Regions from separate parts of the Homo sapiens genome. Here all the other regions are linked to region 1. The links are contacts of gene promoters, found by promoter capture Hi-C in blood cells and fetal thymus (Javierre and others, 2016). All regions are on one chromosome and are shown on one strand. The core of a region is centred on a gene start or on the middle of the fragment in contact, and the rest is flanking DNA. Distances in the headings are between cores, read along the strand shown.

Region 1 (5,176 bases), core at 1,603-4,102:
AGGGTCATGGAAACCCTGGAAGCTTGGCCTCAGAGTTGGAGTTGAGAGGACCCCAGATGAGGGGATAGTTTAAGCACAGTGGTTTCGATGGGTCTGGGGTCCATTTCAGCTCAGCTGGGGCCTGTTTCTTTGGATTTTAGAAAGCCGTGCCCAGGTCCTGCCATGCCTCCTGTCTGATGCAATCTCGTTATTCTTTTCTCGAAGTCCGCCAGTGTCCAGTTTTTTTTGCATGATCCTCACGACATCCCTTTGAGAGAAAAGGAAGGAAAGACGAGCCCACTTCTCAGGAGACTTTAGGGACCTTAGGGACACAGCAAGCGAGTAGGAGTCCCAGGGCTGGGGTCCAGGTTGCCTCTGGAGCCGGTGCTGTTCCCCAGGAGGGCACGGAACCACCTCCCTCTCTGATCTGCTGCCATCTCTCTTGCCTCACAGTTCCCGTGGGAGCCATGAAGCTGAACGAGAGGAGTGTAGCCCACTATGCACTCAGCGACTCCCCAGCGGACCACATGGGCTTCCTGCGCACCTGGGGGGGCCCAGGGACCCCACCGACCCCCAGTGGCACTGGCCGAAGATGCTGGTTTGTCCTCAAGGGCAACCTGCTATTCTCCTTTGAGAGTCGCGAGGGCCGGGCCCCACTGAGCCTGGTGGTGCTGGAAGGCTGCACAGTGGAACTGGCCGAGGCTCCCGTGCCCGAGGAGTTTGCCTTTGCCATCTGCTTTGATGCCCCTGGAGTGCGCCCACACCTGCTGGCCGCAGAAGGGCCGGCGGCCCAGGAGGCCTGGGTGAAGGTGCTGTCCCGGGCAAGCTTTGGCTACATGCGCCTGGTGGTACGCGAGTTGGAGAGCCAGTTGCAGGACGCACGCCAGAGCCTGGCTTTGCAACGCCGCTCATCCTGGAAGTCTGTTGCCAGCCGCTGTAAGCCCCAGGCTCCTAACCACCGAGCTGCGGGCCTGGAGAATGGCCACTGCCTCTCCAAGGACAGCAGCCCTGTGGGCTTGGTTGAAGAAGCGGGCAGCAGGTCTGCAGGGTGGGGGTTGGCTGAGTGGGAGCTGCAGGGCCCTGCCAGCCTCCTCCTAGGCAAGGGGCAGAGCCCTGTGTCCCCTGAGACCTCCTGCTTCTCTACCCTGCATGACTGGTATGGCCAGGAGATCGTGGAGCTGCGGCAGTGTTGGCAGAAGAGGGCCCAGGGGAGCCACTCAAAATGTGAGGAACAGGATAGGCCCTAAGTCTGGGCCCTTTGAGTCAGGAAACCAGGGCCAGTTCTTTTTCAGGAGTTAAATGTTTACCCATTTCCAAGGTTGCGTTTTGGGAGGGGACATGGGTTCTCTCCTTCCTGCTATTTAGGCATTCTCCAGGTTCGAGATCCACCCGTGTGTCTGGAAGGGACTGCGGGACCATTCCTTCCATCCTCTTTATTTCCTGAGGTCCAGAGAAGGAAGGAGACTTAGCAGCCACAGAGCAAGACCCCAATCTCCTGACTGCACTGGCCTGACTGCCCCCTCCCAGGGGATGTTAATGAAATGAAGGAAGTGGGGAATGTCACCCGAGACTGTCACAGGCTTGCCATACCTTTGGCCTACACACCGGGCTCTAGAGCCATAATTTCCAACCTGGGGAGTCTCCTGTGCACTTAAATCCGAGGTAGGCTGCAGTATCGGCTTGAAGCTCTGACACTGTCAGAGAAAGTGGATTTATTGTGTCATAGGAGTTTCTGGGACCCAGCTCTTCCTGAGAGGGGTGGGAAGATTGGGGATGGGATCCTCACTCAGCAGTCTGGGTAGGGCCCTTTGAGGCAGAGGGTCTTCGGCCAGTGAAGAGAGATTTATTCTGCTCAGAGTGCTGGGGTCCCATCCTTTCTCCCTGGCTGCCCTGTTAACAGATGGTGCTGGACCTTGCCCCGGAAGGGGCTTGTAGCTTTTTTACGTCAACGAAATGCCCTCCTGTACTCTGTCTTCAGCAGCCAACTCCTGGAGCTGCCAAGTGAGGGGTTAAAGAAGAGGTGGGGAGGCAGTGTGGCTCCCTGGGAAAAGTCTGTTGCTTTGGTTCTCAGTCCTGGGTATTCTAGGAGCTTGGACACGGGATTGCGTTTCCTGTGCTAAAATTCTCTCTCCTGGCTGGGCTCCGGTAAACTGAAGCTGCTCGAGAAATCACCTGGGAACTCTCATAGCCGTTTGTCACCCAGGGTGTACTTGCCAGGACCTCTCCTTGCTACTCTTCCCAAAGTCGGGAGGCAAAGCGGCTGGGTCACCAGAGCCTGACCATACTGACGCTCCAGGGGGAAGACGCAGAGGCCGGGAAGAGACACCCCCTCCCAAACACATAAAACTTGCCCCTTCCTAGCCTCGGCTCCCCTCACTGGGGCCTTGGGCAGGACCGACCCGCATCCAACTAGGCCTAAGGGGTAGGCTCTGAGCCTCTTACCCCTAAGAGGCGGAGATGCGCCCAAGGCGGGCGCCCGGCCTGTTCCCCAGCCCTGCCTGGAAGCCCCGCAGCCACTGCATTTTGTTTAAACACAGATAGCACGGGCCTTTCTCTTATTGCTACAGTGTTTTGTACACGGTTAAAACACTAGTAAAGCTTTTTCGTTATTACTCCTTCCGCTCCCTGGGTTTATTTCCACAACCGGCCGCTGAGGCCTGTTCTGACGGCCGGGCGGACCCAAGACCGCGGCCACGCCCAGCAGGACGCGGACTGAGGGAGCCGGGGCTGCGCCGCCACTCTCGTGACGCCACCATGCCGGCCAGTGACAAACACCTCCCTCCCGCCGCCCCAGGAGCCGCCGGCACTGCGCGAGTGGGAGGGCTGGGCTTCTCGTGTACTCCTCAAACTCTCGCGAGGCTTCGGGCGGCTTTCTTCCCGAGGGCGGCACGAGGGCTGGGCGGTGGGGTGCGGGTGCCCGGGTGAGGGGCGGAGCTGGGGGCATGGCGTCCGGAGCGGCTCGCTGGCTAGTATTGGCACCCGTCAGGTCCGGGGCTCTCCGGAGCGGGCCTAGCTTGAGGAAAGATGGCGATGTCTCCGCCGCATGGAGCGGCTCAGGCCGGAGCCTGGTACCGTCGAGGTCAGTCATCGTTACCCGCAGCGGCGCCATTTTGCCCAAACCGGTGAAAGTGAGTGTCCTCCTGGAGACGGGGCGAAGGGGCTGAGGCCAATCATTGTGGGGAGTGCGTGAGGGCGGCGCTGATTGATAGGAGCCAAGGCCAATCATAACGATTACCGTAGACTGGAAGGCGGACCAAGAATACGCTAATGAGTTGCTAATTTTGACAGGTGTGTAGAAAATGGTAGGTAGACAGAAGATGGGGGGCAAACGCTGAGGAAGTTGGCCTTTTACATTAGCTTGTCCTGAGAGGTGCGGTGCTCTGCTCCTCTGGAGTCAGAAGACTAGGCCGTGTGCTTCTAGCTTAGAGCAGTCCTGTAATCTCTGCCCTGCCTGTCTCCTAGTTTATGGGATGAAATATGAATTTTGAAAGGACTCTGTAAATAAAGGGTACGTGGGACGGGCCTCATCTTTTTATTAGTTGTCACCTAATATTTAATTCATGTGATTTACAGTCCTGATAGATGTGCAGGGAATTATTACAATCACGGGTTTTCAAATGAAGAATCGGGCTAGAGCGGTGAAGCTCGTATCCAAGGCCAGCGCTGAGGACGCAGCATCCGGGTTTCTTCCTGGTACCGTCCCCACCAGGTCCTGTCTTTTTCCAACACTGAACGCTATCACATGCTTGAGTTTTTCTAGGGAAAACGGAAACAGTCCCTTATATCAAGCGAAAGTTTGCTTTACGACTGCAGGGCTGTGTGGTGTGGGAGTTAAAAAAACAAATTCTCTTAAAGCTAGTCTAGCCTATGCTAACTCACACAATTGACTGTAGGTCCATGTTGGGAAAGACCTGCCTTATCAAAACAGTTGAAAAAAAAATTTTTTTAATTCTAGGAATACGAGAGAAATGTTGCTGAGATTTTACTGACATTCTCCCAATCCATCTAAAGTCTTTGAGTGTAAATACATGCCCACTTTCAAATACATCTGTTTCTAAAATTTTTAAATCAAATTTCTCAGGCATCAGGGAACCTGTTACTTAGTGAACTGTGTAGAATATCCCTTCACTGTACATCTTTCTGTCATCGGTTTTCGTGTATTTCGTGTTCAGGCAGAGCTCACCGTAGTCTGGCCCTCCTAGTACTGGTGCACCCGATTGCCTGTAGGGATTTAAAGTAATTAGCAGGCTGTGTCCTAACTTTAGATGTCTAGGGTGCCTTAGACTTTTCTTTCCAGTGGACTTTTCGTCCATTTTGATGGCCATAACAGTCACCTTATCTCCTTTTTTTTTTTTTTGAGACGGAGTCTCACTCTGTCACCCAGGCTGGAGTACAGTGGCACAATCTTGGCTCACTGCAGCCTCCGCCTCCCGGGTTCAAGTGATTCTTCTGCCTCAGCCTTCTGAGTAGCTGGGACTACAGGCATGTACCACCACACCCGGCTAATTTTTTGTATTTTTAGTAGAGACGGGGTTTCACTATGTTAGCCAGGCTGATTTCGAACTTCTGACCTCGTGATCCGCCCGCCTCAGCCTCCCAAAGTGCTGGGATTACAGGTGTGAGCCACTGCGCCCGGCCTTTTGTCTTTTTTTTAGACAGAGCCTCACTCTGTCTCCCAGGCTGGAGTGGAATGGTGCAATCTTGGCTCACTGCAACTTCTGCCTCCTGGATTCAAGCAATTATCCTGCCTCAGCCTCCCGAGTAGCTGGGATTACAGGTGCGCACCACCATGCTGGGTCAATTTTTTGTATTTTTAGTAGAGACGGGATTTCACCATGTTGGCCAGGCTGGTCTCAAGCTCCTGACCTCAGGTGGTCCACCCACCTCAGCCTCCCAAAGTGCTGGGATTAAAGGTGTGAGCCACCCTGCCTGGCCTTCTCCTTTTCTAATTACTTTTCTTGCCCTGAATTTTTCCAAGGACTTTAAAATCAAGTTGCTTATGATGGGTCTGAGGGTATGTCTGTGAGAGGGCCAGGTCTTCTTTGGTCCTGCCAGAGTGGGCTCTGGAGCTCACAGCTGCCACTCTGACCCTCTGCAGATGTCCTTCGGCCTTCTCCGTGTGTTCTCCATTGTGATCCCCTTTCTCTATGTCGGGACACTCATTAGCAAGAACTTTGCTGCTCTACTTGAGGAACAT
Region 2 (5,176 bases), core at 1,425-3,924, 390 kb after region 1:
CCAAGTGACACAGTTTTGGACAATGAGATACAGGCTGAAGTTTGCTAGGTTTATTAATTATCGATGCATATCAAAGTATCCCAAAACTTAGTGGTTTAAAGCAATGGATGCTTTTATTATCTCACGATTTTTGTGGGTCAAGAATTTGGGAGTGGCTTATCTGGGTGGTTCTGGTTCAAGATCTTAATGAGGTTGCAGTCAAGGTGTCCACTGGGGCTGCAGTCATCCGAAGGCTTGACTAGATCTGGAGGATCTTCTTCCAAGGAGGTTTACTCATGTGGCTGTTGGCAAGAAGTCTCCTGTTGTCTGGATGCAAGTCATGGTACATGTAAGACGCTTTAAGAGTTTTTATTGTTGGCATCAAGGAAAAAAGTATGACCTCTTCCTTTGCCTATCTCCAATCCCTTTTATCCCCATTTTATTTTTGATCTATCCACCCATGTACTCATCCACTACCCATCTACCCACCCATCCATCCACCCACCCATCCATCCATCCACTCACCCATCCAGCCAACAACTCACTCATCCACCCATCCACTCATCCACCAACCTTTCACCCACCTACCCACCTATCCACTTACCCACCCACCCATCCTTTCACCCATCCACCCATCCATCCACCCACACACATATCCATCCATCCATCCATCCATCCATCCACCATCCACCCACCCATCCACACACTCATCCACCTATCCATCTATCCAATAGTTTCTGGGAGCGTATAAAGTGCCAGGCACAATATTTAGGCACTTGACATAAAAAGTGAGTAAGATTTGTGCCCTTCCTTTAAGTAATTCCTCTCTATTTAGGATGACAGATATGGAACAATTCTAGTACATTTGTGATAAGTGCTATGCTACAAGTAAAAGAGGGATACTATCTTTTTTTTTTTTTTCGAGACAGGGTTTCACTCTGTAACCCAGGCGGGAGTGCAGTGGTGCAATCTTGGCTCACTGCAACCTCCATCTCCTGGGTTCAAGCGATTCTCGTGCCTCAGCCTCCCGAGTAGCTGGGATTACAGGTGTGTGCCACCATGCCAGGCTCTTTTTTTTTTTTTTCTTTTTGGTATTTTTAGTAGAGACAGGGTTTCACTATGTTGGCCAGACTGGCCTCGAACTCCTGACCTCAAATGACCTGCCCACCTCAGCCTCCCAAAGTGCTGGGATTACAGGCATGAGCCACCGCACCTGGCCAGATACTATCTTAGATGTATTAATATTTTTTCCTTCTCTTATTCAGTCAGAAGCTTCTGTTGGCCTCAAGGATAATTATGATTTTCATAGTAGGTAGGTGATGAGAAAGAAAGACGCTTTCACTTTTAAGTATTAAGACTGACTCCAAGTGCATGTGATTCGGTAGTCTTGAAACTGAGCTTTCAGAGAAAAAAGAGATTTTCTAAATTCCAAAGGCTCTGCTTTAAGACGTAAATAACAGAATCCTGGACTTGGATTATAAGCAGTGCACAGGGTCTGAAGGTGTGACTTAGGGAAGTTCCCATCAGTAGGAAGACACAGGAGATCAGATGTCAGCGTCCTGATTCCCTCCTCGGGGTTAACACAGTGGTAGCAAGGCCTGCGGTGAGCATGGCAGCAGAACGACAGGGGCTGCTCAGGCATGCTTTGGAAATGGCCAGGAAAGGGTCTAGGACAGTGGCCTGGAAGGCAGCCTCACAGATCTAGTGTGAGGCTACACCCAGCCTACACTCTCTAGTGTGGAGTGGGAAAAGCAGCCCAGGCCCTGATGAATCAAAAGACTGAGATTGGGGTACAGAGGCCAGGCTGGGAGCCCTGGGCTGGAGGTTGAGAATAATGCATGATGGTATCGCCTCGTGGACACCAGGACGGAAGGTCCAGGAACCGCCCTGGCCATGGCTGAGAGGCAGGAGCCAGGAGGGTGCCCTAGTTACCCCGCACCCTAGCAGCATCTCAGAAAGGAGCAGGGAGAGACACTTGATCGGAACTTGAACCTGAACTTGAACTTTAATCTTGACGCGTTAATGAGGAAGGGAGTTTTGGAAGACTGAAGAGGCTGAGTTAGCTCTGATGAGCATGTTCCTGGTGTTATTTCCTTTCTCTCTTTTGCCGTGAGCAAGAGTGGGGACTTGCGAGCTCAAGGGAATCAGTTATAGACCATTTTTAGTTCTATTTCTGTGCACATCTGCCTGCATACAGCATAAAGATTTTTACCCTGGTTGAGGCGTGCACGGGATGCTGGGATTACAGGCGTGAGCCACCGTACCCACCTGACCCTAAATTATTTTTGGTTCCTCCAATCCAACTTTCTTCCATAGAATACTAAGAATGGGAATTGCTCTGTTCCTAAGGCACTATAAGCTGAAACTAAATGAATTTTAAGGGATGAGTCTTGTGTGTGATCTATGGACCATATAGAAAGTTCACTGGACTGCCTCATGCCATGAGCAGAGACAGTCTAACTGTAAACCAGGACAAGCAGTTGATGGCTTCATGCTGTGGGTGGCTTTTCCCAAGACAACAGAACAAGAGTCCCCATCATGAGCCTCTTGTCCCTCTTAATTCTTCCCTGCTTATGCCAATTTTTTCCACTTGGCAGGATAATGATGCAACTGAAACTTCCCAATCAGTAGCTTCTGCTGGTAACTTGACAGAACCTGACCTAAGAGATCCTTTAGGCCACCTAGTGGGTAACTTTGGCAACATCCCTAATAGAACTGTTGTTCACTCGGCTTTAATGCATCCCAGTTGTGGGATACTAGATGATGAATTTGCTCTATATTATTTATTGGTTGGATAAGGAAATGTCTGTGCTATTGCTAATACTACATGCCACACCTGGATAAATTTCTTTGGGGAAGTTGAGACCCAAATACACAAAATAAGAAAACAAGTCACTTGGTTACAACAGGTCTCATCTAATTCTCCATGGTCATTCGATTTATTCAATGTATTCCCTTTAAGTCTAGGTTCATAGCTCAAAACCATTATGCAAACTAGGGTTACCATTTTTATTTATTTATTTATTATTTATTTATTTATTTATTTATTTATTTATTTATTTATTTTTGAGACAGAGTTGCGTGCTGTCACCCAGACTGGAGTGTAGTGACACGATCTCAGCTCACTGCAACCTCCGCCTCCTGGGTGTGAATCCTCCTGCCTCAGCCTCCCGAGAAGCTGGGACTACAGGCATGCACCACCACGTCCAGCTAATTTTTTTTTTTTTTTTGAGCCGGAGTCTTGCTCTATCACCCAGGCTGGAGTGCAGTGGCTATATCTCGGCTCACTGCAAGCTCTGCCTCCTGGGTTCACGCCATTCTCCTGCCTCAGCCTCCCGAGTAGCTGGGACTACAGGTGCCTGCCACCATGCCCAGCTAATTTTTTGTATTTTTTTTTTTTTTAGTGGAGATGGGGTTTCACCGTGTTAGCCAGGATGGTCTTGATCTCCTAACCTCGTGATCTGCCCTCCTCAGCCTCCCAAAGTGCTGGGATTACAGGCGTGAGCCACCGCGCCCAGCCACGTCCAGCTAATTTTTTGTAGAGACAGGATTTCACCATGTTGCCCAGGCTGGTCTCAAACTCCTGGGCTCAAGAGATCCACCCACTTCAGACTCCCAAAGTGCTGGGATTACAGGTGTGAGCCACTGCACCTGGCTATCCCTTCTCTTAGAAGGATGAATCAGTCTATTCAGTAAATTTAAAAGGTGACTGGGGCTGGGCGTGGTGGTTCACATCTGTAATTCCAGCACTGTGGGAGGCCGAGGCAGGTGGATCACCTGAGGTCAGGAGTTCGAGACCAGTATGACCAACACGGTGAAACCCCATCTCTACTAATAATACAAAAATTAGCCAGGTGTGGTGGTGCACAACTGTAATCCCAGCTACTCTGGAGGCTGACGCAGGAGAATCACTTGAACCCAGGAAGTGGAGGTTGCAGTGAGCCGAGATCGCACCAGTCACTCCAATAGAGTGAGACTCTGTCTCAAAAAAAAAAAGAAAAAGTGACCTTATGAATGGGTAACAATTGCCTGTGTCTTACAGCCAGATCTCAAACAACTTCGTGAACAAATCTACAAGAATCACACATTGTTAAAACACAGCCATCTCACACACAGAATCAAGCTTGTGTTTGACAATGGCATGGAAATCACACTAATTATGATGACCTAGGCTGGGAGAGAAAACCAGTGCACCTGCACTATCTGATCCCAGCCTCCCTCTGAGCCTCACCTGGGGTCACTCTTCCCCTTAGTGTGCTGTAGCCACTCTAGATCCCACCTGCTCCTAAACACACCCATCTCTTCTCTGCCCCGGGGCCTTTGCACGTGGCACTCCCTCTGCCTGAGAAGCTGCCACTTGATGTTGTCAGCTCCTTCTTATGCTTCAGATCTTCCTTTCAATGCCAGCTACTCACAGAAGCCCTCCCTGACCACCCTGTTCAAAGTAGCATCCTCACTGTGGTAGCAGGATGATGCCTCCCCCAAGATGTCCATGTCCTAATCCCTGGTACCTGTGAATATGTTATGTTACGTGGCAAGAGGGAATGAAGGTTGAAGATGAAATGAAGTTTGCTAATTAGCTGACTTTGTTTTATTATATTTTAGTTTTTTTGTGAAGGAGTCTCACTCTGTCGCCCAGACTGGAGTGCAGTAGTGCAATCTCAGCTCACTGCAACCTCTGCCTCCCAGGTTCAAGCAATTCTCCTGCCTCAGCCTCCTGAGTAGCTAGGGTTACAGGTGCCCGCCACCAGGCCTGGCTAATTTTTGTATTTTTTGGTAGAGATGGGGTTTCGCCATGTTGGCCAGGCTGGTCTCAAACTCCTGACCTCAGGTGATCCCCTGCTACCTCGGCCTCCCAAAGTACTGGGATTACAAGCGTGAGCCACTGTGCCCTGCCGAGAGCCCCCTTTAAATCATCAGGCCCAGAGAGGCATTGAAATGTGATGGCAGTTACAAGCCCCCTCCCCCACCCGCCCCTAAAGCCACCTGCTATTGGGACCCTAGACTGACTATCAACACCAACAGCCATAAATTAACCTAACCATGCCATTCGCTGGATACCATAACTCATACTCTAATCAATGTGATTTCAATAAACCAATGAGAATTCCTGTAACATAACTTCTGTAATCGCTTCTCTCCTGTTTCATACTTTTTTTTTTTTCCTTGAGACAGGTTCCTGCTCTATGGCCCAGGC
Region 3 (5,176 bases), core at 1,752-4,251, 390 kb before region 1:
TCCGCCTCCCTGGTTCAAGCGATTCTCCTGCCTCAGCCTCCCGAGTAGCTAGGATTACAGGCGCCCGCCACCACGCCTGGCAAATTTTTTTTTTTTTTTGTACTTTTAGTAGAGATGGGGTTTCACTTTGTTGGCCAGGCTGGTCTCGAGCTCCTGACCTTGTGATCTGCCTGCCTCGGCCTCCCAAAGTGCTGGGATTACAGGTGTGAGCCACTGTGCCTGGCCTCTTTTTTCTCTCTTTTAAAAAAAAAAATTGGTCCAAGGATAATACACACACACAATTACAAGTGTGTAGATCAGTAAATTTTCATAATTGAATACATCAGTTTGTAGCATGCAGATTAAGAAACAAATGATTACCAGCAGCCCAGAAGTTTTAGTCACAACTCTGCGGATTTCCTTTTCTTTTCCTTTTTTTTTTTTTGAGATGCAGTTTTGCTCTTGTTGCCCAGGCTGGAGTGCAATGGTGTGATCTCGGCTTACCTCAACCTCTGCCTCCCAAGTTCAAGCAATTCTCCTGCCTCAGCCTCCTGAGTAGCTGGGATTATGGGCATGCACTACCACACCCGTTAATTTTGTATTTTTAGTAGAGGCGAGGTTTCTCCGTGTTAGTCATGCTGGTCTCGAACTCCCGTCCTTATGTGATCCGCCTGCCTTGGCCTCCCAAAGTGCTGGGATTACAGGAATGAGCCACCACTCCTAGCCAACTCTGCAGATTTCTTTCTTGTTTTTCTTTTTTTTCTTTTCTTTTTTTTTTTTTTTTGAGATGGAGTCTTGCTGTGTGGCCCAGGCTAAAGTCCAGTGGTGCGATCTCGGCTCACAGCAACCTCTGCCTCCCAGGTTCAAGTGATTCTCTTGACTCTGCCTCCCTAGTAGCTGGGATTACAGGCATGTGCCACCACGCACAGCTAATTTTTGTATTTTTAGTAGACACAGGGTTTCACCATGTTGGTCTGGCTGGTCTCGAACTCCTGACCTCAAGTGATCCACCCACCTTGGCCTCCCAAAGCGTTGGGATTACAGGTGTGAGCCACCACGCCTGGTCGACTCTGGATTTCTTTCTTTCTTTCTTTCTTTCTTTGAGACGGAGTCTTGCTCTGTCACCCAGACTGGAGTGCAGTGGCGCGATCTCGGCCCACTGAAAGCTCCACCTCCCGGGTTCATGCCATTCTCCTGCCTAAGCCTCCTGAGTAGCTGGGACTACAGGTGCCCGCCACCATGCCTGGCCAATTTTTTTTTTTTTTTTGTATTTTTAGTAGAGACGGGGTTTCATCGTGTTAGCCAGGATGGTCTCAATCTCCTGACCTTGTGATCCGCCCACCTCGACCTCCCAAAGTGCTGGGATTACAGGCGTGAGCCAGTGCACCCAGCCTCTTCTTTTTTTTTTTTTTTCAGATGGAGTCACGCTCTGTCACCCAGGCTGGACTGCAGTGGCGTGATCTTGGCTCACTGCAACCTCCGCCTCCTGGGTTCAAGCAATTCTTGTGCCTCAGCCTCCTGAGTAGCTGGGATTACAGGCATGCGCCATGATGGCTGGCTAATTTTTGTATTTTTAGTAGAGAAGGGGTTTTGCCATGTTGGCCAGGCTGGTCTGGAACTCCTGACCTCAAGTGATCCACCCATCTTGGCCTCCCAAAGTGCTGGGATTACAGACATGAGCCACCATGCCCTGCCATCAGAACAAACTTTTAGAAACAGAACATAGCACTTAGCTGCTCAAAACCCTGCAATGGCTCCTATACTTACATTATCTGGCAAACTCAGAATAAAATTCTCGCTCCTAATCACGACTCTAAGGACCAGCATAATCTGTCCCATGTTTGTCTCCGATCTTATCTCCCAGTGCTCTCCTCATTACTGGTTCCATTCTGGCCACACAGTCTTCTTTGCTGTTCCTGTACATGTAATTTTGTTCCATCCTCAAGCCTTTGTACTTAATGTCTCTTCTGCCTACAACGCTCTTTCCTCAGATGTCACTTGGTTTGCCCCTTACTTCATTCAGGCTCCAGTCAAATGTCACTTCCTCCAAGAAGCCTTTCCTGACTATTCTGTCTGTGCGGATTATGCAAGTTATTATGTGTGCAAGGATTTTGCTTCTCTGTTCTCATCTACAGGTGCCACTGCAGAAGCGGGCAGTGCCCTCCATGAGGTGCGAAACTGTCTTCAAGCTGACTCCTGAATTCTTCAGTCCTGGAAAGTCCAGGGGCCTAGATTCTCAACAATGCGCACAAAGGCAGAGATGGGGATACCGGAGGAGCCTCCAGGAATCATGGGCCCAGAACCTGCTCTCTCCACAGCACCCATGTCCAGGCCCACCTTCGGGTGTCCACACCCACTCTGAGCCCATCTTTTGTACCACCTCCATTTCAAACACCTGTTTACTGCCTCAGAACAGTTCCTGGAAAGCATGGCAGGTGCCTTGGTGTCTCCATGATGGTCAGACTCGCCCTGCCTTGGACATGTGTCAAGAGATGGAGCAGCTGCTGCTTCACTCACAGGAAAGGTTGGTGTCACTGGAGCCTGTCATCAGTGTGAGGTCTCGCCCCACCTCCATGACCTTAACCACCTCTCTTCCAAACTTACTTTCAGCTGAGAGGCTGCAGTTCTGCCCCCAGAGAGCTCCTGCCTGATCCTTCCCACCAAACACTGAGAATGTGCACTTGGAAGTCTTGGCACTGTCGACCAGAGGCCTGGGAACCAGGGGGTAAAAACCAGAAAGCAGGCAGAGAGGATAGTAGAGAGACCCAGGCTCCAAGGTGGGTGAACCAGACAGGGAGCAGACGGGAGGATGCTTCAGAAATCCAGGCATCTGGGGAGTAGTTCCCAGTAGACTTTGGAATGGAGGGTGATGCAGAGACTAACGTGTTGGAGTGTGCAAACCAGAGACTAGTAATAAGTGAAACTGATGGCGAGATCTTGACACCAGGGTGGGACACCCAGGACCGGATGGGAGTTGAGAGTAGAACCAACATTCAGGAACTAGGGAATAGAAACCAGAGGGAGGCTGGAGGTGAGAATCTCCCTGAAACCCAGGCACATATGGGAGAGAACCAAGAACAGTTAAGATGTAAAATTGATGCAGAGACCCAAACACCTGAGTGGGAGAACCAGGATAAGAATGGAAGTGAGGATGCTGTGGAGACCCAGACATTTGAGAAGAAGGACAAGAAAGAGGCTGGAGAGGAGGATGGGGAAGAGATCCAGGCTCAAGGATTGGGGAAGCAAGGCCAGACTGGAGATGAGAATGGTGAGGAGACCCAGACACCACAGTGGGAGAAACAAGATCAGATGAAAGGTGATGCGGATGTGGAAATTCAGATGGAAGAGGGGAGAAACAAGGATCAGGTTGGAGGTCAGGATGCTGCACAAACCCAATCATGTGGGAGGGAGAACGTGGGAGAAGTAAAAAAAGAGAATAGTGTAGAGACCCAGGCCTTGGATTGGGGAAAACAGGAATGTGTTGGAAATGGGAATGTTACAGAGATCCAGACACCAAGGTGGGAGAAGCATGATCAAGGTGGAAGTAAGAAAGCTAAGAAGACCCAAGCATCTGGGGGAGAGAACCAGAAACAATTAAGTCATGAAATTCAAGTGGGGTGGGGAAATAAGGGCCTGAGAAGAGATGAAGATGCTAAGGAAACCCAGATAGCTACCAAGAAGAAGCTCAGGGAGATAAGAGAAGGATTGGGTGGTGATCCAGGCACTATGGTGGGGAAACCGGAGACAAGTAGCAAGTGAAATTTATAGAGAATTTGAGATACTATGTTGGGAGAATCAGAACTGGATTGGAGGTGAACATAGAGCAGAAATTCAGGCATCAGAGAAGAGAGACCAAAGAAAGGATGGATGTGAGGATGGCACAAATATCCTGGCACCCGAGGCTGAGATCCAGGAACAATTAAAAGGTGAAACTGATGTGGAGACTCAGAGCAATGAGCCACTTAGAGAAGAGGATGGTACAGACATTCAGTCACTAGGGAGGAGAGAGGTTAAAGGTGAGGATGATAAAGACACCCAGGAACTTGGGAGGAAAAATCAGGGTCAGTTAGGAAATGAATTTAGTGGAAAGATTCACATACCAAAGGGGAAGAATCAGGAACATATTAGAGGCGAAGATGGTGCACATACCCAGATATCTGAGTCAGGGAACTGGGGCAAATTAACAAGTCAAATTGATGGAGAAATGCATTCAGCAGAATGGAAGAAAGATCAGCAGATTGGAGGTGAGAATGGGGCAGAAATTCAGATACAAGGGAAGAGAAACCTGAGAGAAGTTGGAGGTGAGGACGGTGTAAAGACCTGGGCACCTGGGAAAGAAACCCAGAGTCAGTTTAGAAGTGATCTTGGTAGAAAGATCCTTTTATCAGAGTGGAAGAGCCAGAAGCAGATGGGAAGTGAGAATGGAACAGAAATTCAGGCTCCAGTGGAGAGAAACCAGAGAGAACCTGGAGGTGAGGACGGTGTAAAGACTCAGAGACCTAAGAGAGAGAACGAGGACCAGTTAGATAGTGAAATTGGAGGGAGCCATTCACCAGGGAGGAGGAACTGGGAGCTGATTGGAAAGGATGTTGCAGAAAATCAGGCATCAGAGAAGAGAAACCAGAGAGAGGTTGGAAACGAGGACGGTAGAATGATCTGGAGGCTTAGGGGAAAAAACTGGAGGCTTAGAGCGAAGAAACAGACTGTTAAAAAGTAAAGATAATGGAAAGACCCGTTTATCAGAGTGGAAGAACCAGGAACAGGGTGGAGGTGGGAATGATGAAGAAATTCAAATACAGGGGAAGAGAAACCTGAGAGGGACCACAGCTGATGATGGTACAGAGACCCAGGCTCCTGCAGGAGATGACCAGGGACAGTTAAGAGTTGAAATTGCTGAAGAGATCCAGGTACAAGGGCAAGGAAATAAGAATGACGGTGGAGTTGAGGATGTTGCAGAACTCCAGGATATAGGAAGCCAGAGAAAGTGCACAGATGAGGATGTTGGAGAGCCTCGAGCACCAAGGGGAGGAAACAAGGATCTGGTCAGAGGAGAGGATGCTGTGAGGGACAGTCTCCAAGTCGACTGTTCTGGGAGTGAGAGGCCCACAGGCAGGAAGCACAGCCTACCATGGCCTCCAGCCTTCACTGGCTATGGATGTGGGACCCGGGAACAGGAACAGGCAGTGGCTGTGAATGG
Region 4 (5,176 bases), core at 723-3,222, 300 kb after region 1:
GATAAAAACTGAATAGGCATTTAACCATCTGACAGGTAGAGGGAGTTTCATGCGCCAGAGCCTGGACCTTGAAAGAGGCCCCAGCAGGGCCCTTCTGTAGGAGGAAAGGAGGAAGGGCAGGAAAGGGTACGGGCAGGGCAGGCTGGGTGGAGGAAGAAGCTGAACCACGTCCCAGGGAAGTGTGTGTGTGCTCTGTCCTAAGGGTAATGAACAGGGGACAACAGAAAGTGTTTAAGTAGGGCAATTTTTTTTGGTTTATTTTTGTTTTGTGTTATTGAAATGCAATTCACATATTATAAATTTACCCTTTTAAAGTGTACAATTCAATGGATTTTAGCATATTCAAGAGGTTGCGTAACCATCACTGCTGTCGCATTCCAGAACATTTCCATTACCTCATAAAAAATCCCCATACCCATTAGCAGTTCTTTTTTTTTTTTTTTTTTTTGAGACAGAGTCTTGCTCTGTCGCCCAGGCTGGAGTGCAATGGCGCTATCTCGGCTCACTGCAAGCTCTGTCTCCCGGGTTCACGCCACTCTCCTGCCTCAGCCTCCCAAGTAGCTGGAACTACACGGACCCGTCACCACGCCCGGCTAATTTTTTGTATTTTTAGTAGAGGTGGGGTTTCACCGTGTTAGCCAGGATGGTCTCGATCTCCTGACCTCATGATCCGCCCACCTTGGCCTCCCAAAGTGCTGATTACAGGTGTGAGCCACCGTGCCCGGCCAGCAGTTCTTTTTTTTTTTTTTTTTTTTTGAGACAGAGTCTCACTCTGTCGCCCAGGCTGGAGGGCAGTGGCACCCTGTCGGCTCACTGCAACCTCAGTCTCCTGGGTTCAAGCAATTCTCCTGCCTCAGCCTCCTGAGTAGCTGGGATTATAGGCGCCCACCATCACGCCCAGCTAATTTTTATATTTTTAGTAGAGATATGGTTTCACCATGTTGGCCAGGCTGGTCTCGAACTCCTGACCTCGATGATCCACCTGCCTTGGCCTCCCAAAGTGCTAGGATTACAGGCGTGAGCCACCGTGCCCGGCTGTCTGGATAATTTTTGTATTTTTAGTTGCGATAGGGTTTCACCCATGTTGGCCAGGCGTGGGCCACTGCGCCTGGCCCCCATTAGCAGTTCTAAAGCTCTCTGCAACCTTGAACTCCAATCTTGAGCTCCAGGCTTGAACCCAGGAAGAAGGCAGGGGTGCCTTGAGCACCACAATGACCATCTCTATTTCTGGAACTGGTCACTTGGCTGTGGGTCCTACCCTTATCCCTGGGACTCAGCTGCACAGACTTGTCCCAATGGGTCAGGAAGGACAGCAGCTCTCCTGACTCCACCCCCGTCACATGACATGCCAGGGTTCCCCACCCATAAGGGGCAGGAGATTGTGGGGCTGCTGGAGGAAGTTGTGGGGGCATTTGAGGCTGAGTGCTGGCTAAGCAGCAATGGCTTATGCCGGTAATCCCAGCATTTGGGAGGCCAAGGTGGCAGGATCGCTTGAGCTCAGGAGTTTGAGACCAGCCTGGGCAACACGGCAAAACCCGGTCTCTATGAAAAATACAAAAAATTAGCCAGGTGTGATGGTGCGCACCTGTAGTGCCAGCTACTCCGGAGGCTGAGGTAGAGGACCGCTGGAGCACAGAGGTTGAGGCTGCAGTGAGCTGTGATCGCACCACTGCACTCCAGCCTGGATGACAGAGTGAGACCCTGTCTCAAAAAAAAAAAAAAAAAAAAAAAACCAAACCGAAAACACATTAAAATTTTTCTTTTTGGAAAACCATCCAATCAGCCAGAGAGACACAGAAAAAAAGGAGCTTCTCCAGTGCTCCCCACACACCCCCGCCACCACCCCTGGCCGGGCTCTGTTCTGCTGGCTACTTGGGGGAGTCTCAGGCCCTGAATGATCAGGGACATGTGGCCTGGCCTAGAGGCAGCTGAGGCAGGAGGGAGGCCATCTGGTGAGGCGAGAGGTAGCGGTCAGGACATTGCTGAGTCCGCTGAGGCATCCCCTGGCAGTCACAAGGGCTTCTGGGATCAATTAGCAGAACCACCCTAACAGGGCTCATGGCCCCTGACGCAGGCACGTGTCCTCAGAGCCTCTTGACAGCCTTGGCAGCCAGGAATTGAAAGGAGGTGGGGGAGGGGGATGTCGGCCTTTCCCCTGTGCCTGGCCTCGCCTCCAACAGCTCAGCACAGAGCCTCCCCGCCCTCCCCATTAGGCGGAGGCTGCCGGCCTTCCAGAGCCTGCACTTCTTATTGCCTTGCTTCTCCTGGTGTTGTGGGTGCAGCAACAGTCTGCCTCAATTTTCACATATGTAAAATGGGTCATATACTAATTAAAGATCACTTCCTGGAAATAAAAAAAAAAATTATCCCTTTTTCACTAAGAACAGGTGTTGAATCAACAGCAAAGGAAAAGACTCCTTTATTTTTTGAACAAACAGCTCCTAAGCCCCTACTGTGAGTCAGGCACAGACAAAGAGAGACAAATGAGGTGTTTGCCATGCTTGGGAAACACGGGAATTCTGGGGGGAGATGGATGTGTGTGAACTGATTCAGTTTGAAGAGGTCAAAGAAATGAGAGGATTCAGTAAACTGCTTGGTGTGGGAGGGGGCTTTAAGGAAGACTTCACAGTGGAGGTAGCATTTTTTTTTTTTTTTGAGATGGAGTTTTACTCTGTGGCTGATATCTGTGGTATGTGCCACCACACCCGGCTAATTTTTGTATTTTTAGTAGAGATGGGGTTTTGCCATGTTGGCTAGGCTGGTCTCCGACTCCTGACGTGAGGTGATCTGCCTGCCTTGGCCTCCCAAAGTGGTGGGATTGTAGGCGTGAGCCACTGTGCCCAGCTGGAGGTAGCATTTGAGCAGGAATTCCTCAGGCAAAGAATAGGGTGCAGGTCCTCAGGGCAGGGAGAATGGTAGGAGCCCAGACTCAGAGGTGGGGAGCTCAGCATCTTGGGGAACAGCAGCCATAGATGGAAGCATGAATGGAGCTGGGGTGACTTTGGGCCAGTAGGAGCCAATCAGAAATGAGCTGGTGGACTCCATGAAGACAGGACTGTCCATTTCTTATTCCAGCCACAGCACTGGGCTTGACACATAGTTGGAGCGGGACAAATGTTGTTAAAAGAATGAAGGATGGCCAGGTGTGGTGGCTCACACCTGTAATCCCAGCAATTTGGGAGGCTGAGGCAGGCGGATCACTTGAGGTCAGGAGTTTGAGACCATCCTGGCCAACGTGGTGAAACCCTGTCTCTACTAAAAATACAAAAAATTAGCCAGGCGTGGTGGCACTCATCTGTGATCCCAGCTACTTGGGAAGCTGAGGCAGGAGAATTGCTTGAACCTGGGAGACAGAGGTTGCAGTGAGCCAAGATTGCACCACAGCACTCCAGCCTGGGTGATAGGAGGGAAACCCTGTCTCAAAAAAAAAAAAAAAAAAAAAAAAAAAAAAAAGCCAAGCATAGTGGCTCACACCTGTAATCCCAGCATTTTGGGAGGCCGAGGTAGGTGGATTTCTTGAAGTCAGGAGTTTGAGACCAGCCTGGCCAATATGGTGAAACCCCATCTCCACTAAAAATACAAAAAAAATTAGCTGGGCCTGGTGGCACGTGCCTGTAGTCCCAGCTACTCGGGAGGCTGGGGCAGAAGAATTGCTTGAACCCAGGAGGTGGAGATTGCAGTGTGCCCAGATCACACCACTGCACTCCAGCCTGGGCCTCACAGAGAGACTCCATCTCAAAAAAAAAAAAAGAAAGAAAGAAAGAAGAAAAGAAAAAAAAAAGTGAAGGAGTGGTAGGAGTGGTAAGAGCCCTGAATGTGAGACTAAGGGGTTGAGCCCCGATCCTATGGACAGTGGAAACCACTGTGAGTTTTGGTATAGGGTGTGAGGTAGGGGTCATGTAGAGGTTTGGCTCTCCCAGCACCAATTGTTGAAAAGACTGTTCCCCATTGAATGATGGTGGCCCCCTTGTTGGAATGAATTGACCATTACCATAAGGTATGGCAGGCTTTTGAGAGAGGAATCATGTGGTCAGATATGTATTATAGAAAGATCAGGTGAGACTTGTTTGGACTGGGAATGGCTGGGAGGAGGAGGGGTTGGAGGGAGGCTCTTATGGGTGGACTTGATGGCAGGGGGACAGAAGGGGCATCTGGGGAGAAGAGACATCCCTGGATCAGCCCATGGCGGGCAGCAAGGTACAGGGCTATGTCCTGAGCCAAGGCCAGGATCTGGCCCACTTGGGCCTGTGGAACTCACTGGGGGATGGGGATGGGGCAGTCAAGGGAGAGACAGAGAAAATGCCCCCACTCCTCGGCCCCTCAAGGTCCTCAAAGTGGTAAAATAAAACCCACTCCAGATATAGCCATTTGCAAAGTCAGTTTTCAGGTAATGAAAGGATTGTAATGGAAAAACAATGCCAATTACAGCAGCATTATCCGGGATTATAAAGCTTCTAAGAGGCGGCTCACACCTCCAGGCATGCTGTGCCTGGGAATTTCCAGGGTAGACTTGGGATCAGAGCATACAGGCTGCCAGGATCCAGGCCTCACAGTGGGCGTGGGCTGCTGGGGAGGCCCAACCCCTGGGGCTCTATGGATCTGCCTCCATTTCCCCAAAGAGATAGAATACCGGGAGGCAGGAGGACCCCCCCAACTTCACACACACACACACACACACACACACACACACACACTTCTGAGAAATTGGATAAGAGGAATGTGAGGCTGCCAGCCCATCTCTGAAGGAAACCTGTTCTTCTGTGGGCTTCCCTACTCCTGGGGACACCACATCCCTCCATGGCTCTTTCTGCCTCCCCCATCACCTCCCCTACCTGGCCTTGGGGACAGCAGGACTGCACACATGCCCTTGGGGACAGCAGGACTGCACACACGCCGAGGCAGCCCAGCGTTGCTCCTCCTGGGCTGTGTGACCTGGAGCCAGTCAGCTGTTCTGAGTGGTAGCTTCTGCTTCGATAAAATGGGGAGATCACCCCTGCCCACCATCACAGACCTATTTTCAGGATTAAATGAAATATTCTAGATAAAGAGTCCGAGGAATAGAAACCAGTCCAACCTCGGGGCCTGGCGATTTGGTGGTGACTGTTAGAACAGTGAACTTCTATGCACTGGGTCCCAGGAATCCCTCCTCATTTCCCATAGGGAAAGTTTTGCAGAT

What was found. The method cuts DNA at HindIII sites, captures the fragments that hold promoters and counts their contacts. A CHiCAGO score of 5 or more calls a contact.
Region 2: a contact is called between a fragment that was not itself captured here and the fragment with the promoter of SMDT1 in region 1, in 11 of 17 cell types (M2 macrophages, M0 macrophages, endothelial precursors and 8 more). The highest score is 11.2, in M2 macrophages.
Region 3: a fragment that was not itself captured here is called in contact with the fragment with the promoter of SMDT1 in region 1 in 1 of 17 cell types (naive B cells); the score reaches 5.2 in naive B cells.
Region 4: a contact is called between a fragment that was not itself captured here and the fragment with the promoter of SMDT1 in region 1, in 2 of 17 cell types (activated CD4 T cells and neutrophils). The highest score is 5.4, in activated CD4 T cells.

Annotation. Positions count from the first base shown.
Region 1 is chr22:42,076,848-42,082,023 of GRCh38, forward strand. SMDT1 (single-pass membrane protein with aspartate rich tail 1) reads left to right here and starts at 2,853. Exons shown (of 3, transcript NM_033318.5): 1 at 2,853-3,107; 2 at 5,078-5,176. The coding sequence starts at 2,922. PHETA2 (PH domain containing endocytic trafficking adaptor 2) reads left to right here. Exons shown (of 3, transcript NM_001002034.3): 3 at 433-2,591. The coding sequence starts at 447. The coding sequence ends at 1,226. RefSeq lists enhancers at 795-1,357, 2,598-3,370 and a silencer at 2,278-2,572. The HindIII fragment of the contact is 3,809 bases long and covers 2,576-5,176 here.
Region 2 is chr22:42,471,050-42,476,225 of GRCh38, forward strand. No RefSeq gene overlaps it. Among named protein-coding and RNA genes, the nearest start is that of NFAM1, 41 kb to the left of the region's middle. The HindIII fragment of the contact is 2,851 bases long and covers 1,250-4,100 here.
Region 3 is chr22:41,691,349-41,696,524 of GRCh38, forward strand. It overlaps the pseudogene C22orf46P. Among named protein-coding and RNA genes, the nearest start is that of SNU13, 5.1 kb to the left of the region's middle. The HindIII fragment of the contact is 7,463 bases long and covers 1-5,176 here.
Region 4 is chr22:42,374,831-42,380,006 of GRCh38, forward strand. No RefSeq gene overlaps it. Among named protein-coding and RNA genes, the nearest start is that of LINC01315, 8.2 kb to the left of the region's middle. The HindIII fragment of the contact is 4,953 bases long and covers 1-4,449 here.